Linked DNA regions of Homo sapiens: region 2 is linked to region 1. The links are contacts of gene promoters, found by promoter capture Hi-C in human tissues and cell types (Jung and others, 2019). All regions are on one chromosome and are shown on one strand. Each heading gives the region's core, a stretch centred on a gene start or on the middle of the fragment in contact. The rest is flanking DNA. Distances are from core to core; before and after follow the strand shown. Region 1 holds the start of CSH1 (chorionic somatomammotropin hormone 1). Region 2 overlaps ERN1 (endoplasmic reticulum to nucleus signaling 1).

Region 1 (5,470 bases), core at 1,847-4,346:
ATAGCATTTAAGAATCGAACTTCTAAAGAAGATTAATTGGGGGGTTGATTATTTGCATTGCAAAACAATTCCTGACTTTATGAAATCATTTTTGGATACTAGAGTTCCTGTGAGCATCTTAGCATCGATTTATAGGTCACCAGTCACTTAGCCAAGGTGCTTGGGAGAGCAAACTCTTAACTAACCACCGCTCTTTAGTGCTTATTTGGAAATAATAAACATCTGAGATGTTTATTATTTCCTAATTGTCATTAGGAAAACAATATAATTTCACTACAGGTATTTAGACACTCCATCAGAAAACACAAAACATCCAAAAATTCAATGCAGAAATAGCTAGAATTTCTTGAGTACTATAATATATCAAAAATACCATTGCATTTAGTCCTCACATAATCCTTGTAAAGCAATATATTATTATCTCAGCTTGGTCAAGTAATTTATTCGGGGGCACTAAATTACATACAGCCCAAATCTTTCTGATTCTTTCCCTTACACCAAGTTACCCCAATCAACATCTCTTAGAACAAAATTGCTCACAGACAGCTTGGAGACCATGTGTGTTTCGGTTAATTTTTGCCCTTAAAAGATTTTCAATATGTGTTGCCAGTGTTTAAATGTTAGAATTCCTGTAAAAGTCTGGATGTCCTGGCTGTCTCAAAAGGTCAGAAGGTCTGGAAGCCGTGTCCCTGCAGTCCTGATGGTGACAGGCTGGGTGGGTCCCACCTCAGCAGGGGCCTGAGTTCTGCAGATTGTGCTGGTTCCCACCCCTCTGTGTTGCATCCCCCGAAGGGAAGTGAGTGTCATCTGGGATTTATCCCCTCCCATCCAGCCCTCATTGCTTACATTGTTATCTACCTGGAACCTGTTGGCACTGCATTTACAACCCCAAATAAAATCTCTCTTCCACTTCCCTTGCCCTAATTCAGATTCCAAATGCTCTGGTTCTGTATGTCTCAAACTCATTTTTGCATTGTTCTCATTTCCCGAGAGTAGTTGGGCTTAAGGAATACTCATCTTAAAATTCTTCCGAACACAAGTAATTCTATGCCATTGTTTCCTCACCTGTTGGGGAGTTTTTGCCTCTGCACTTAATAGCCCATCTTGTTTTCATTTCTTTCCGCTCCTGGGGGGCTAGGTTTGGTGTTGCTGGTGATGGTGGGGGAGGAAGAAATGCCTTCAAGTCATCTCTGAGATGACCAATGGGCTGTGACCAGCAAGCTGGGACCACTGAGCTGGTGGAATGGCCTTAGTGAGTAATAGACAGCAGTGATGTGTCAGCTTTTTTCTGGCCCAGGAACAGCCAAACCTCTTATATTTCAGTGGCCTAGTTCCCAATAGACCTTGAAGGCCCTCCAGGTCTTCTTTCCACCTACCCCTTGCTCCATACCACCACCTTCCACCCCATAATATTATAGAATGACACCTAGTCAGATGAAATGATACAACTTAATTTTATTAGGACAAGGCTGGTGGGCACTGGAGTGGCACCTTCAGGGCCAGGAGAGGCACTGGGGAGGGGTCACAGGATGCTACTCGGGCACCTAGAAGCCACAGCTGCCCTCCACAGAGCGGCACTGCACCATGCGCAGGAATGTCTCGACCTTGTCCATGTCCTTCCTGAAGCAGTAGAGCAGCCCGTAGTTCTTGAGCAGTGCGTCATGGTTGTGCGAGTTTGTGTCAAACTTGCTGTAGGTCTGCTTGAGGATCTGCCCAGTCCGGCGGCTGCCGTCTTCCAGCCTCTGCAAAGTGAAGGAAGAGAAGGAGAGGCCAAGCGCTTGGGCACTGTTCCCTCCCTCTCTCATTTATCCATTTTCCTCCCTCCCCTTCAGGGTGTAGAGAAAGGCCTGGAGGATTCACCAGGCGAAATGAAGAATAAGGTGAGTTCTCTTGGGTCAGCGCCTTACTGCTAAAAAGAGGGCAGCAGTATTTCTCTCCCCCAGCCCTCGAAGCCAGTGGGGTTCCAGGATTGGTGACCCCTGGCGCCACCCTCACCCCCATCAGCGTTTGGATGCCTTCCTCTAGGTCCTTTAGGAGGTGATAGTCATCGCTGTCCGAGGTGTCATACACCAGGTTGTTGGCGAACATACTCCTGAGGAACCGCACGGGCTCCAGCCACGACTCGATGAGCAGCAGGGAGATGCGGAGCAGCTCTAGATTCTGCAGGGGAAGGACCGGCAGTGGCTGTGCTGCCCGGGAGCCCTGACCACAGGTCTCCCCCATCCCCGCCTAGGGGAGACGGCATCCACTCACGGATTTCTGTTGCGTTTCCTCCATGTTGGAGGGTGTCGGAATAGAGTCTGAGAAGCAGAAGGAGGTCTGGGAGTCATGCAGGAATGAATACTTCTGGTCCTTTGGGATATAGGTTTCTTCCTAGGAGAAGGACCCCCCACCAAGAAGGACTGCTGGTTTCTATGCTGGAGACCAGCTCCCATTGTTGCTTTTCTGGGAACCTGGCTCAGCCTATGCTCATCTGCCTGCATTTTCGCTTCAGAAAACAACCCTGAGCTCCTTAGTCTCCTCCCATTACTTCCCCAGTGGGGGAAAGTCACCCCTTCTTGCCACCCCTGACCCGCACCCATTCCCCAAGAACTTACAAACTCCTGGTAGGTGTCAATGGCCAGCTGGTGCGCGCGATGGGCTTGGAGCATAGCGTGGTCAAAAAGCCTGGATAAGGGAACGGTTTGGACGGCACCAGCCTCTTGAAGCCAGGGCAGGCAGAGCAGGGCAAAAGCCAGGAGCAGGGACGTCCGGGAGCCTGGGGAGAAACCGGAGGGCAATGGAGGGAGCCGGAGAGGAAGAGGCCAGCGCTCTCCCTGCTCCAGGAGCTGTTTGTTTTTTTTCTCTCTCTCCATCCCTCCAGAGACCAGGAACATTCAGAGATTGGCCAAATATCTGGCCTTAGATGGCGATACTCACATTCATAAGCCCCAAACCTGAGGGTTAGTGCCCCCGTCCCATCTACAGGGCGCTGCCTCTCCCCTCAGGACACGTTGTGCCCAAAGGGATTTTAGGGGCGCTTACCTGGAGCCATTGCCACTAGGTGAGCTGTCCACAGGACCCTGAGTGGTTCGGGGAGTTGGGCCTTGGGATCCTAGAGCCGGTCTCTTGTGGGCCCTTTTTATACCCTGGCCAGTTCTCTCTCCCTGCTTGACCCCACCTGTTTCTGTGTACATTTATGCATGGGGCCACTGACGGGCTTGTGCTAGTGGATAATTTAGAAGCTCCTCCCACACATGCTGGGATCATGCCCCCTGGCTTGTCGTCTTTCCCTTCTCACCATCACCAGTGTTGTAAGGATTGTGCACAGAGTGTCAGCCACAGACTCCACCCAACTTGTCCTCTCTTTAAGGGTCAGGTGGGTGCCCTCTGGCTGCAGGCCATGTTGGTCAACCTGAACGCGGGGAAGGCTGTCAGGATAGCCAGTCCTTGAGACCCCTACCGACCCCATTCCACTCTCTATCCTATTCCTTTCCTCCTCCCCGCGTGTTTAACTTCCACCCACCAGACAGAATGTGTGTGTTGGGAAAAGGGGCCAAGCACAGCCAATAGATTGTGGGGGTTCTGAGCACCATTGAGTCCTGAATTCCACTTTTGCTGATGACTCCTGGGCCCACCTGAGTCAGCTGGATGCAGTGCTAACACTGACCACTAGAGAGAACCAACCCCACACATTGCTCTCCCCTTTCCCTGAACCTTGGGGCGGAGGCGGTGGGGCTCCCCCAGGTCCCTGGGGATGAATAACCCAGACTCAAGGTATTGCCCCAGCTCCTTGGACCTGAAGCAGAGATACAAACCAAGAAACAGAAATCCCGGGAACAGACACGGACCACAAGCGCTTCCTCCCATAGTCCTGAAACCAACAGAGAATCTCAAAGTTGGAAGAGCTCTTGAAGATTTGAGTCTCTTCCCCAGCTTTAAAACTCAGAACACATCACGCCGAAAGAGGCCCTATCCAGCCATGGAAGCCCGTCCTCTTTTGTCTCTTCCTCCTTTCCAGACCTGTGTAGAGCTTATCCAGTTGTCAAAGGCCTGCCTGTGCATTCTCACGTCTGACCTGCAACTTGTCTTGTGTAGGAGGTATGAGTATCATCCCATTTCACAGATCAGGAGACTGAGGCTCAGAGAGACTGATTGCATGAGCTACCTCAGCCAGGGCAGCAGATCTCCACAACCTGGCTCTTCCCACATTGCGTCATTTAAAGTCCTTTCTCCAGGCCGGGCATGGTGGCTCATGCCTGTAATCCCAGCACTTTGGAAGACTGAGGTGGGTGGATCACTTGAGGTCAGGAGTTCAAGGCCAGACTAGCCAACATGGCAAAACTCCATCTCTTAAAAATACAAAAGTAGCTGTGTGTGGTGGCAGAAGCCTGCAATCCCAGTTACTCCGGAGGGTGAGGAGGTAGAATCGCTTGAACCCAGGACTCAGAGGTTGCCGTGAGCCAAGATTGGGCCATGGCACTCCAGCCTGGGCGCCAGAGTGAGACTCCATTTCAACAACCACAACAACGACAACAACAACAACAACAACAACAAAAGTCCTTTCTCCAGAGCAGGTGGTGTGGTGCTACTCAGTTATTTAGTTATTTTAGTTTCCTTTCTTTCTTTCCTTCTTTCTTTCTTTCTTTCTTTCTTTCTTTCTTTCTTTCTTTCTTTCTTTCTTTCTTTCTCTCTCTCTCTCTCTCTCTCTCTCTCTCTTTCTTTCTTTCTTTCTTTCTTTCTCTCTTTGTCTTTCTTTCTTTCTTGTTTTTGATGGAGTCTCATTCTGTCTCTGAGGCTGGAGTGCAGTGGCATGATGTTGCCTCACAGCAACCTCCACCTCCTGGGTTCCAGTGATTCTCCCGCCTCAGCCTCCCTAGTAGCTGGGATTACAGGCGCCCGCCACTATGCCGGGCTAAGTTTTGTACTTTTTAAATAGAGACGGGGTTTCACTATGTTGGCCAGGCTGGTCTCGAGCTCTTGACTTTAGGTGATCCACCCTCCCTGGCCTCCCAAAGTACTGAGATTACTGGCATGAGCCACCGCTCCCAACCCAGTTATTTCAGCTTCTATATCCCTCTGAGTGCAGGGATCCTGCCCCCAACACAAGGGGCCCTTTGCCTGATTTTGTCTTTCCATAAGGGGCAGATTGTTCTTTCTCAATTCTCAGGTGAGAATGGCCCAGTGGCATGGGGTGCCTTGTGGAAACCTCACAGCAGGAAAAGGTGAAGGCAGAGAAGGCCAGGACTGAGCCTCCTGTCTCCTGGTGCCCAGAGTTGGGGCTATTTCAATATAATCTGGAGGTCACAAGCATCAGATGCCCCCAGAGATGGCAGCAGGAAAGAGCACCCTCTCTAGTGGTGAAATCTTCCCCCCGAGTTTAAGAGCATCTAGCACTTGACTCTGTAGAAACACAAGCAAACAAACAGGCAAACGCTTCCAGAAGTGGTTGGCAGTGGTGTTGGCAACCAACATTGAACACCCACACCCC
Region 2 (5,645 bases), core at 3,146-5,645, 150 kb after region 1:
AAGCCCACAGGTAAAGCACCTTGCAGCCGTATGGGGAGCTCTGTCTCAGGCCACCTGGCATGCGGCATGGGAGCAGCAGGAAATGCGGTCTGGCCACGTTTCTGAACAACGCACAGCCTTGCTTAGAAGACGCCAAGGACACCGACCAAGGGCCAAGGTTCCAAGGCCTAAGTGAGGTAATCGATGAGATTTAAGGATGTAGGATCACGTTAATAGTAGGGAAAAAAGTCACTTTAGCTATGATGAAAGGAAGGGAACTGAATTCTACAAAGGCAGAATGAGAGCTTTTGATGAGTAACCATGATACAAATACACAAACAGAAAACATCTTACAACATGAAGAAACAGTGATTTCTCTGTGAGTAAAATTCAACAATCCCATTCTTAATACTGAATGGAATCTCTGAGTTCACCAGGCCTGAGCTGCAATGATCCCCCAACTGGCTGGAGAAAGTACATGGACAACATCTCCTTACACGGTAGGCTGATTGCATTTTAACCTCTAAGGCTCTCGGGAGAGAAAAGACAAAGTTTTGACTGAAACTAAAGCTAAAAATTATGTTAAGTTTAGAAAAAAAAATATGGTACAAACAATTTAGAGACTATTTCTTTGATACTGTTCAATACATTTACATAGTGTTGCTATAATGTTTTACTCTTCAGCATTAGAGAATGTTCTATACATGAACACTCTTGAGGGGATGGTGATTTTTGGTACCACAAAAAATAGAAGATGTATTCTATCTTGCATTTATTCTTCACAAGAAAGCTTCAAGTTTAGCTTACTTATGCTGACATAGCATTCTACAGTATAATCAAAATATAGTTATTAAAATTTGCCAAGAAAAACAAAAAAGCTGGCCCATGAAGCACACGGTGACCCTGGCCTTGGCCACCCACCCTGGCCCTGACTCACCACGAGCCTCTTGTTCCACCGGCCTTGGGGACGAAGGAGTTTGACTGCCTACTCGCTGGCCCAGGGCTTTCTCCTGGTGACCAGGAGGGTCCCATTCGGCGGCCTCCCTCTGGTCCTGAAGGCTGGCCCCTGTCTGGGTCTTCGCTGCTCTCCTTGAAGGCCAGGGAACTCTTTACCTCTTGCCCCAGGCGCTCCTGAGCACCACCCCGAGATGGCCCGGGACACACCCACCAAAGGCCACTGTTCTGGCCACTGGCACTGGGCCACGGCTGCCTCCAGAACAGAGCAGCCTCTTCATTTCTGAGACCTGCAGACACAACCCCACCTGCCAGCATGCATAGCTGACCAGTCCCTAATGCCACACCTCATGCTCATGGCTCCTGCTGCCTCTGCAGAAACACTAGTTAACAGTGACCTGGGCTACTCTGGGCACATCTGTGATCAATGAGAAATCTCACACTGCAGGACGACACCCTCTGAACTCCGTCCTCCCCCTCCTCAGCATCCCCCACCTCTCAATTCCGGTCTCCAGTGAAGGCTGTACTTGGTGCATCTCAGCCTAGCTGTCCCAGCACGCAAGCAAAATGTACGATTCCCTCCTCTCCCTTCCTGAAAGGCCTGTAGACTGACATTAAGCAGGAATTTAAAAAGTCTGAAGCAAGTTTATCCAGTAGATGGCTGGGGGTGCTACTCGCGCTGTCTCTGAGGCCCTCCTTTGCAGACATCATGACCGTAAGGCTTTTGGGGCCAGCATCTTCCCAGTTCCCTGTAGGTCACGAGGGGCCACTTCTCCCACTTCCTGGGGTCAGCACTGTCCTCTGTGGGCTGCAGAGCAGGCAGCTCAAGGCACTTGGTTTGGGAAGCCTGGTCTCCCTGCAAAGCCGGGAGGCATCAAGCTCTAATTGTGGTGACCAGGCCCTCAGTCACAGCTGGGGCCACCAGAACAGAGGGGCCGCCCTCGCTCAGAGGGCGTCTGGAGTCACTGGGGGCTGGGGCTCTGGGGGCTCGTGGAAGTAGTAGGGCTGGAAGAGTCTCTCGTGGCTGCACAGCTCCATGGCCCGGTAGGTGTGTGCGAGGAGGTGGGGGAAGCGAGATGTGAAGTAGCACACGAAGTCGTCGGGGAGGGACCCCAGCGTCTCCCGCACCTCTGCAGGCAGCTCCCGGTAGTGGTGCTTCTGCAAAGAGTTAGAAAGCTCGGGAGATTAGAAAGGGGTTAGAAAGCTCGGGAAATGTTGGCAAAACACCCTTTCATCATGCAAGGAAGAGACAGAATGTGAGTGTTGGTTTTTGGTAAAGAAAAAGAAAAAAGGCTTATGTATCCAAGAATCCAGCCCCGTCATCTCGCCTGCTACCCTCACTCAGGAGGAGGCCTTGAAGTGAGCAAGGCCCAGCCAGTCCAGGGGGTGCTCAGGCCTTCTGTGACAGTCAGGACCTGGAGACACTCCTGGCCACCTCAGGAGGAGTAAAGTCGCCTGAGATTGGAGTGTCCGTCCCAGTGGGGTCCCCGCATTTGAGGTATGTTTATACATGTTTACACACAGTGGCTGCATCAGACAGGGAGAGGGCCCCACAAAAGTCAGCGACCAGAGACCATGAGGGACATGGGCCGCAGAGCACTGCTTCCCGGAGCTTCACCTGCACCTACGTCCCTGAAGGGAAAATCAGCGTAAGAGAGGCAACAGCCTGCAGTTTGCCAAGTCCAGCTGAAGCCGCCTAGCTCCTGAGAGATGAGAATGCCAGTACAGATAAAAGATTTATAAAGAATGGATGAAAGGAGGAAGGTGTCCATGTCATGGCCACTGGGTCTCCTCCCCAGCATTTACAAACTGCTTACCTTATTTCTCATGGCTCGGAGGAGATCTCTGACAGAACCACCTTTATAGGTCCTGAATTTACGCAGGTCTAGAAAAACATTGAGGGAAGCAATGGGTAATCAAATTTAAAACTAATACATTTTAAAAGAAAACAATTCATGGGGTCCTGGGATTAGGGAGTTGGACTGAAAGGTGAGGTCACTCCACACCTAGGCATGGGAGCAGATCCTCCCATCCAACCCAAGGGTGGTATCCCCCTGAACCCCACCTGGTGATCACACCCAGGTCAGAAATGACCACCTAGAGCACGACACCATCACTCACCTGTCACTCTAGGGAACAAAAATGAAACACACATCAGTGTAACCAAACCACAGAGGACACACCCAAGAAAGTCTCAAACCTGACAGGTGGGATGTGGGGCCTGAACAGCCTGGAGCGGCCATTTCCACGTTTACTTTTTGGAAAGGCGGCAGCGACTTTTGCAACCTGCCCTCTCACACGCTGCAGCATGATCACCTGTCTGGAGGGGGACAGTGATGTTCTCCCGCCAGTCCATCTTCACCACGGCTCTCCCGCCTCTCTCTAACTGCTTCACGATCGGGCCATCCAGGGATTCCTTTTCTATTCTGTCGCTCACGTCCTGTGAGAGAAACAAGGGCAGCAGATGATGGTCAGTGCTGGAGATGCTGAGAGCTGTGCGACTGGGACTCAGTAACAGATCATCACTGACACATAAGCCTGCCCCAGAGCTGGGCAGCAGGCACCCTGCCCCCTCCCTCCCTCATCCATGACTTTCCCTGTGAGCTGCTCTGTTCCTCACGAAGCACAGGCCCACAGAGAGCTTCTCCCATGTCAGAGAGGTGTCACAGAGTACACCTGCATATAGACCACGAACGCATACCCTGAATTTCACATGTGCACACACACGCCATGTGTACGGAGCCGCAAGTGCAATCTATATCCAATGAACCAAAACCAAAAAGAAAAGGAAAGCTCAGATTTGATGTGCATCCCGTGCTTTGTCTACTCACTGAAACAGGGTATGCTCAAGCCCATAACTGGTGGAGGGTCGCCACTCTTCCCTCCACCAGTAGAAAAGACCTGTGAAGCTGGGCCTTCTTCTCAAAGAGGAAACTTGGTGGCAAGAGTATGGGCTCCAGAGGCTCCTGTTGGGATTCAAACCTTGCTCTGCATTTGACTTTGGTAATAAGGAGAGGGTCAGGAAGCACCCAAGTATGGCCTCTTGAAGTCCCACCAGTAAGACAGGTCGACAGCTGAGGACACAGGGAGTGGTGAGCCCTGTCTACATCAATGTTAAGTAGCCTTAGGAGACCCTTTTCTCAGAGCAGCCTTTTCTATGATGAAGATGAAGCCAGACTGGCTGAACTCCTAATTTACAATTGTCAGAGAGAAGCTGTGGAGAGGTTAGATTGTCAACTTGGGTACACTGGGAACACACGTGTCTGAGCTGCAAAGCTGTTACGGCTAAATGACCTGAGTGGAAGCCAGGTGTGTTCGAGAGACATATGACCTGGAGATACTAAGCATTTAAATCCTGTCCCTTGGTGGGTGAAGGTCCCTTTGTGTGGGTTTTATTCCTGTTCTATATTTTGCGATCAAAATGACCTGGTTAGTTTTCACAAGTCCCTGGAAGACATATGGACTTGAGAATTTTCACATTATGTCCATGGACACAGTGACCAATCCATATGCTACAACATGGAAGACAGCATTAAACTCTTCCCAACCCGATCCATCTGAATGGTTGGGCCAGGCAGCGTCCTCCCTAGGAGGCAGGGACACAGTAGTGAATGCAGCAGTCAAGCACTCCTGTCCTCGAGGAGCTTACATTCTGGGGGCTTCCCTCTGGCCAAGGCCCCAGTCAGACCCCAGGAGAGCATGATGGTCACTTCTCAGTACGGTGCCCACCAAGCTGCACTCTGCCTGGACCCAAGGGGAAAAGCACTGCCCCACAAGCCTGCTTTCAGAGCCACGTGCTGGGCAGGAGGCGTTCGGGTGAGTTATGTTCAATTCATACATGGAAGACTTTGAAAAACACATTACCTCTTCAAAAGTCACCTGACATTGTCACAAAGCTTTAAAACAGTCAAATCACCAAAGGAGTTCTAACTTTGCAGAACCTATTTTAAGCAAAAGGAGATCTGGGCCAAGACTGTGTAAAAGATGATAGAAACAAATACAATATAAGAAAGCACTGAAATTTATGACACTTGGGCTGGGCCTGGTGGCTCATGCCTGTAATCCCAGCACTTTGGGAGGCTGAGGCGGGCAGATCACCTGAGGTCCGGAGTTCAAGACCAGCCTGGCCAACATGGTGAAACCCCATCTCTACTAAAAATACAAAAAAACTTAGGCAGGCGTGGTGGTGCATATCTGTAATCCCAGCTACTCAGGAAGCTGAGGCAGGAGAATCACTTGAACCCGGGAGGCAGAGGTTGCAGTGAGCCAAGATTGCACCACTGTACTCCAGCCTGGGTAACGGAGTGAAACGCTGTCTCAAAAAAAATAAAAATAAATAAATAAGCTTATGACACTTGAATGAAATTATATGATGCCTGAGATTTACTTCGAAATAACCTGGGGTGGGGAGAGGGTGAAGGTTAATATTTATTGAACCTGAGGGATGAATAAAGGAGTGCTCATTATAGCATTTAAACATTTATGTATTATATATTTGGAAATTCCATAATATAAAGCTTAACCATTATGGCACATCCATATGATAGAATACTATGGTCATTGGAATTTTAGAACTTTAACATGAAAGAAACTTAAAATATCATGTACAGTTAAAAAAAGGGATTCTGAAACTGTATATACGGTTAGATCCCAATTATACTTTTATATATGAAGAAAACATTAAAACATCAGCCATGATTATCTTCCAGTTT

Evidence for each region. Contacts are between HindIII fragments. The study calls those that stand out against the background at their distance.
Region 2: a contact is called between a fragment that was not itself captured here and the fragment with the promoter of CSH1 in region 1, in 1 of the 25 tissues and cell types used here (spleen).

Annotation. Positions count from the first base shown.
Region 1 is chr17:63,893,478-63,898,947 of GRCh38, forward strand. It overlaps CSH1 (chorionic somatomammotropin hormone 1), which reads right to left and starts at 3,097. Exons shown (of 5, transcript NM_001317.6): 1 at 3,025-3,097; 2 at 2,598-2,758; 3 at 2,254-2,373; 4 at 1,996-2,160; 5 at 1,441-1,742. The coding sequence starts at 3,034. The coding sequence ends at 1,545. The HindIII fragment of the contact is 19,326 bases long and covers 1,637-5,470 here.
Region 2 is chr17:64,042,110-64,047,754 of GRCh38, forward strand. ERN1 (endoplasmic reticulum to nucleus signaling 1) reads right to left here. Exons shown (of 22, transcript NM_001433.5): 20 at 3,250-3,373; 21 at 2,751-2,818; 22 at 1-2,091. The coding sequence ends at 1,879. Among named protein-coding and RNA genes, the nearest start is that of ICAM2, 24 kb to the left of the region's middle. The HindIII fragment of the contact is 3,192 bases long and covers 2,800-5,645 here.